2 separate regions of the Homo sapiens genome follow, and region 2 is linked to region 1. The links are contacts of gene promoters, found by promoter capture Hi-C in human tissues and cell types (Jung and others, 2019). All regions are on one chromosome and are shown on one strand. Each heading gives the region's core, a stretch centred on a gene start or on the middle of the fragment in contact. The rest is flanking DNA. Distances are from core to core; before and after follow the strand shown. Region 1 has its middle 14 kb from the start of FMO3. Region 2 holds the start of FMO4 (flavin containing dimethylaniline monoxygenase 4).

Region 1 (3,015 bases), core at 304-2,803:
TCTGTCTCCTGGGTTCAAGCAATTCTCCTGCCTCAGCCTCCCAAGTAGCTGGGACTACAGGTGCCCTCCACCGTGCCCGGGGTTTCACCATGTTGGCCAGACTGGTCTCAAACTCCTGACCTCAGGTTATCCGCCCGCCTCAGCCTCCCAAAGTGCTGGGATTTCAGGTGTGAGCCACCGCGCCTGGCCCCAGATCTGGTTTCTTCTGAGGCCTCTCTCCTTAGCTTATAGATAGCCAACTTCTCTGTGTCCTCTCACGATCTTTCCTCTGTGTCTGTGTGTTAATCTCTTCTTATTAGGACACTGTAAGACCAAATTAGAACCCACCCTAATGAACTCATTTAATCTTAGTTCCCCCTTTAAAGACCCTATCTCCAAATACAGTCATCTTTTGCAGTACTACGGGTTAAGACTTCAACGTAGGAGTTTGGTGGGGAGCACAGTTCAGCTCATGACACCTTCATTCCTACCACATCTCATCTTTCACTTTACTGCGAAGATTCAGACCTTTAAACCCTGTTGTCAAATCTTCATTGCCTTCTTGCATGGCTTAGGACTCTTGTCTTTCACTTCAGCTGCCACCCTCAGAAAAAAAGCTGCTACCCCACCATCCCCCTTCCTTTGAACCTATCTAGGAAAACTCTAACCTTAGATGAATTCACCTACTTTACTTCCTTCTCTGCTCCTAGATTACACTGCTCCCTGAGAAACATTACACATGCATGCAGAATGCTGCTATTGCCCATGAAGAAGTCCTGGTCTATTAGAAATCTGTGTTCCTCAACCCCAATCAGACCTTGATACCCCAGGCAAGCCTTATAGGTAGTTCCTGCCTTTATTTAACACTCCTGAAATCTACTACTTGACGACTTGCCCACTCATTCTCAGCAGATGACTTTGCTCCCTACATTATAGACAAAAATAGAAGCCATCATCTAGGAAATTCCTCAACTCCACCATGCCTCTTTCTTTGAACCCAGCCCACCCATATTTGCCTCTACTCCCTTTCTTACTACCTATTCTATCAGACTGCAGATCTATTTGATTCCAAAATTCATGTGTTCTATTTATATTGGGGATGGGTACTGCAGAGGCAGCAGGAAATGAGGAGAAAGAAGAAGCTAGCAAAGTAATTCTTTCTGGTACATAGTCAAGCATAAAAATTACATAAAATATTGTGTTATTTTAACTCAAAGTCTGATTGATATGGTTTTGCTGTGTCCCCACCCAAATCTCATCTTGAATTCCCACATGTTGTGGGAGGGACCCAGTGGGAGGTAATTGAATCATGAGGGCAGGACTTTCCCATGCTGTCCTCATTATAGTGAATAAATCTCATGAGATCTGATGGTTCTATAAGGGGGAGTTTCCCTGCACAAGCTCTCTTTTTGCCTAGTGTCATGATTAGGCTTCCTCAGCCACGTATAAGTCCATTAAATGTCTTTCTTTTGTAAATTGCCCAGTTTCAGGTATGTCTTTATCAGCAACATGAAAACAGACTAATACACTTGTATTTATTAATTTTGCTTTATAAAATTTTAGTATAAAATTATATGCCATCAAGCTTTATTAAAATATGTAGGTTTCTTCTTTCCTAAGAGGCTATCGGAAGTTCTTATAAAAGTTACAAGTGAAATTAAAAAACTAAAGCTTATCTTAAGGAGTTGAGCAATGTGGGATGGCAGGGGGTCGGGGGAGGGGCATGAGTTATGCATCATATGCACTTGAAACAGATGTCTACTGGGTGGCTGCCCCAGAAGAATCATTTTTAGTTCCAAGGTCCAAGCCTGTTAGACTACGTATCAATTGTGCAAAGCTTGGATGAAGATTCAAGGCCTTCCTGGCACATTCTTCAAGGCCCTTTCTTTTTCACCTCTTTATCTAGTTCCTAACTTTTCTTAAACATATAAAAATATTTCAATATATTCAATAGTTCCTTGTACTCAATTTTTCTCAGTAGTGATCACATGTGAATCACATTTTATCTGCAGTATAGACAGCAGCTTAAGGATGTAGACATGAAATAATTTAACTGAACCATTTCATTAGAAATTTTTTTAACTCAGAAGTTCAGCTGCAAACGTGGAGGAGTTTTTAGATTACATATGTGGGGTTTTATCAATATCTTATATGTATTTTTAATGCAAAAATCTTCACAACCAAAAAGAGACATTGGTTTTTAAACAGTAATCATACGTTACTGCAGATCTATGTATCACTAACCTATGAAAAATCTGGCACGCTTTCTGAGGTCAATGTCAATACCAAAAAAGAGCCCGCATCGCCAAGTCAATCCTAAGCCAAAAGAACAAAGCTGGAGGCATCATGCTACCTGACTTCAAACTATACTACAAGGCTACAGTAACCAAAACAGCATGGTACTGGTACCAAAACAGACATATAGATCAATGGAACAGAACAGAGCCCCCAGAAATAACGCCACATATCTACAACTATCTGATCTTTGACAAACCTGAGAAAAACAAGCAATGGGGAAAGGATTCCCTATTTAATAAATGGTGCTGGGAAAACTGGCTAGCCATATGTAGAAAGCTGAAACTGGATCCCTTCCTTACACCTTTTACAAAAATTAATTCAAGATGGATTAAAGACTTAAACATTAGACCTAAAACCATACAAACCCTAGAAGAAAACCTAGGCATTACCATTCAGGACATAGGCACAGGCAAGGATTTCATGTCCAAAACACCAAAAGCAATGGCAACCAAAGCCAAAATTGACAAATGGGATCTAATTAAACTAAAGAGCTTCTGCACAGCAAAAGAAACTACCATCAGAGTGAACAGGCAACCCATAAAATGGGAGAAAATTTTCGCAACCTACTCATCTGACAAAGGGCTAATATCTAGAATCTACAATGAACTCAAACAAATTTACAAGAAAAAAACAAACAACCCCATCAAAAAGTGGGTGAAGGACATGAGCAGACAGTTCTCAAAAGAAGACATTTATGCAGCCAAAAAACACATGAAAAAATGCTCACCATCACTGGCC
Region 2 (3,015 bases), core at 131-2,630, 240 kb after region 1:
TCTTTGGGTCTGTGCCATCTTTTAAGAACTGTAACACTCACCACAAAGGTCCGCAGCTCCATTCTTGAAGTCAGGGAGACCAGGAACCCACCGGAAGGAACTAACTCTGGACACAATATTTTTTTTTCTTTTTTTAAATTTTTTTCTTTATTTCTTCTAAAAAAAAGTGGGATGCATGTGCAGAACGTGCAGGTTTGTTGCATAGGTACACGTGTGCCATGGTGATTTGCTGCACCTATTGACCTGTTCTCCTCTAAGTTCCCTCTCCTCACCCCCTACCCTACAACAGGCCCTACAACATTCCCCTCTCTGTGTCCATGTGTTCTCATTGTTCAACTCCCACTTATGAGTGAGAACATGCAGTGTTTGGTTTTCTGTTCCTGTGTTAGTTTGCTGAGGATGATGGCTTCCAGCTTCATCCATGTCCCTGCAAAGGACATGATCTTATTTCTTTTTATGGCTGCATAATATTCCATGATATTTTTCAAAAGAAAATATTTGCTGCCAACAGAAGATTTTATATTAAAATCTGTATTTGCAGCTTTTACTGAAAAGAACCTAAGGCCTTGCCATATTGGGCTCATTTTCTCAAATAGCAACATTTAGCTGAACTGAATAGACAGAGAAAGTACTTTCCAGTCAGATCATATCTGGCCCACTTTCCTCGTGTATGTTACCCTCCTCACTCCTGTAGGCATTTGCATGTGTAGTCACAAGCAAATGTGGTTTAGAAATTGTTCAGTGAACCATGTTGGAAAATGTCCCTAAACACAAGTCCTAAAGATGGTCTGTTATATTATCTTACAAGCACACAGTGGAAGGAAAAACAGTTAAGTTTTCTATTTCTGCCACAGCTTCTATAATTATTACCTTTCTTGTGCCCTAGGTTAATATCTAAAAATAGCTTTATGCTTTCTCAAACACATTTCACCAGCTCCCTCTGCTGATCCAATCTGAAGGACAAAACAGCTTAAATTCCTTGTAAGTCCTGAACTTTAAAATCACATTTCTGGGGTTGGAGAACTCCAAGCATGAAAGAACTTGATGAGGTAATGGTCATCTAAATAACTTTCTCCTTTGGACAGCTCCTATGGTAATCCAAGCAAGAGTCAGGGTGTAGAAGTTTGTTTCCAAAAGTAGAACTCCTGTTTCGCTGAGAAAGCTGTAATTTGGGGTGATTTGGCGCCCTCTACAGACTATAATGGCAAAAGCGACGCTATCATGTGCTTCCCATAGCTTTAGGGCTTTGCCAGAACTATGACGTTGAGGAGGGTGGGGTAAAGGGGCAGGAAGCGTTTATGTTCTGCCAATCCAACAGCTGTATTCTAACTCACCATTCCGCCCTCCCTTAAGATCACGGAAGTATCACGCTTGCCTCTTACACAACTTTTTTTCCTTAGTCTGTATACTTTCTGCTGTCACTAGCATAACAGAAAAGACGAATGGCTTTTGTTTTAAACTGAGGGCACTTTTACAAAAGTCATCTTTCCATTTATTTTTCTTTCAGAAAAAAGAATTTGGGTTTTGAGCTTTTTTAAAAAAAAAAGACAAACACTTTCCTTGACTTTGAGAAATAATTTAAGTCAAAGAATCTGCTCTATGCTAACCAAGGTAAGTGTCCTGGATTTTTTTTTTAATGGGGAAATGATCCAGAAACTGCTTTCACAAAAGATGAATGTTTTTCTTGGAGTGTGTTCCTTAAGAATGAATGTGATTATCTTCTTTTGGGGTCTCTTGACTAGGGCTAAAGCAAGAGAATTAAGGAGAGAGTCAGGAAGCAAAGGGAAGTTGTAAGGAAACAAAGTTATGTTGTGGACAGAACCATCCAAAAGGAAAGTGTCAGTGAGATAAACAGAATCATGAGACTTTCAGTGACTCCAGTGACCTCTGATTTCATCTTATGAATGAGATGGAAATGCCAGCCATTGGGAAACAAATACCCCATAGATGGCGTGGGAAAAAAATACTGTAACAAAGCAAGAGCATGGTAGGATGATGATAAGAAACATAAAATGATCAAATTTCAAATTCAAAGAAATCATAATTGATTACATGATTTGCAAATCACCCAAGTCTCTCCATGTCTCATAAAGGATTCCTACATTTGCTGGTCAGTCAGGTATAGGGTGGGGTTTTCCCGTTGTACAAAGGTCTAGTTCAATAGGTCAGGTCTCCTTTCTGCCAAGGGACTAAATATAAGCAACCTATGGCTGGCACGGTGGCTCACGCCTGTAATCCCAGCACTTTGGAAAGCCGAGGAGGGCAGACCACTTGAGATCAGGAGTTTGAGACCAGCCTGACCAACATGGTGAAACCCCGTCTCTACTAAAAATACAAAAATTATCCAGGCGTGGTGCCGCCTGCCTGTAGTCTCAGCTACTCAGGAGGCTGAGGCAGGAGAATCACTTGAACCCAGGAGGTGGAGGTTGCAGTGAGCCGAAATTGTGCCACTGCATTCCAGCCTGGAAGACAGAGTGAGACTCCAACTCAAATAAATAAATAAATAAATATAAGCACCTTTGAGCAACCAAGTACCTTATGAAGTCCACTTTATAGTTTGCAGAGTTTGCACACACGTTCTCCCAATCCTTCAAGCCTGCAGTATTCTCGCCTACCTTTGAATTCATATCTTTTTTTTTTTGTGCACCAATTACTTGGTTTTCAGACATAAGAACAGTCCTTTCAAGCTTGAAGGAAACAAAGAGAAAGCCACTTGAACCCTCTGTTTTACAAATGTGGAAGCACTGGCTCAGAGAAATTGAGAATTGTGTCCAGGGTTACAAGCTGCTTAGAGGCAGAAGCAGAACTAGAACTCAGATCTCTCAATTTCCAGTTCACTCACTACCTTCCTCTACTGACTCAAGGCAAAATTTAAAAAGGTTGCTCCCATTCAGAAATTTATAGTCTGTAAATACGGATTAATTTTAAAAGGTGCTAATTCCCAATTTGTTTCTACTGCCTGTAGAGTCTCTAAGTCAGTCCTTAAAGTGCTTTTGCCCAGCACGTTTTTAACCC

What was found. The method cuts DNA at HindIII sites, captures the fragments that hold promoters and counts their contacts. A contact is called where the count stands out against the background at its distance.
Region 2: the fragment with the promoter of FMO4 here is called in contact with a fragment that was not itself captured in region 1 in 1 of the 25 tissues and cell types used here (IMR-90 fibroblasts).

The regions. Positions count from the first base shown.
Region 1 is chr1:171,075,869-171,078,883 of GRCh38, forward strand. No RefSeq gene overlaps it. Among named protein-coding and RNA genes, the nearest start is that of FMO3, 14 kb to the right of the region's middle. The HindIII fragment of the contact is 4,052 bases long and covers 1-3,015 here.
Region 2 is chr1:171,312,803-171,315,817 of GRCh38, forward strand. It overlaps FMO4 (flavin containing dimethylaniline monoxygenase 4), which reads left to right and starts at 1,381. Exons shown (of 10, transcript NM_002022.3): 1 at 1,381-1,611. The HindIII fragment of the contact is 8,197 bases long and covers 1-3,015 here.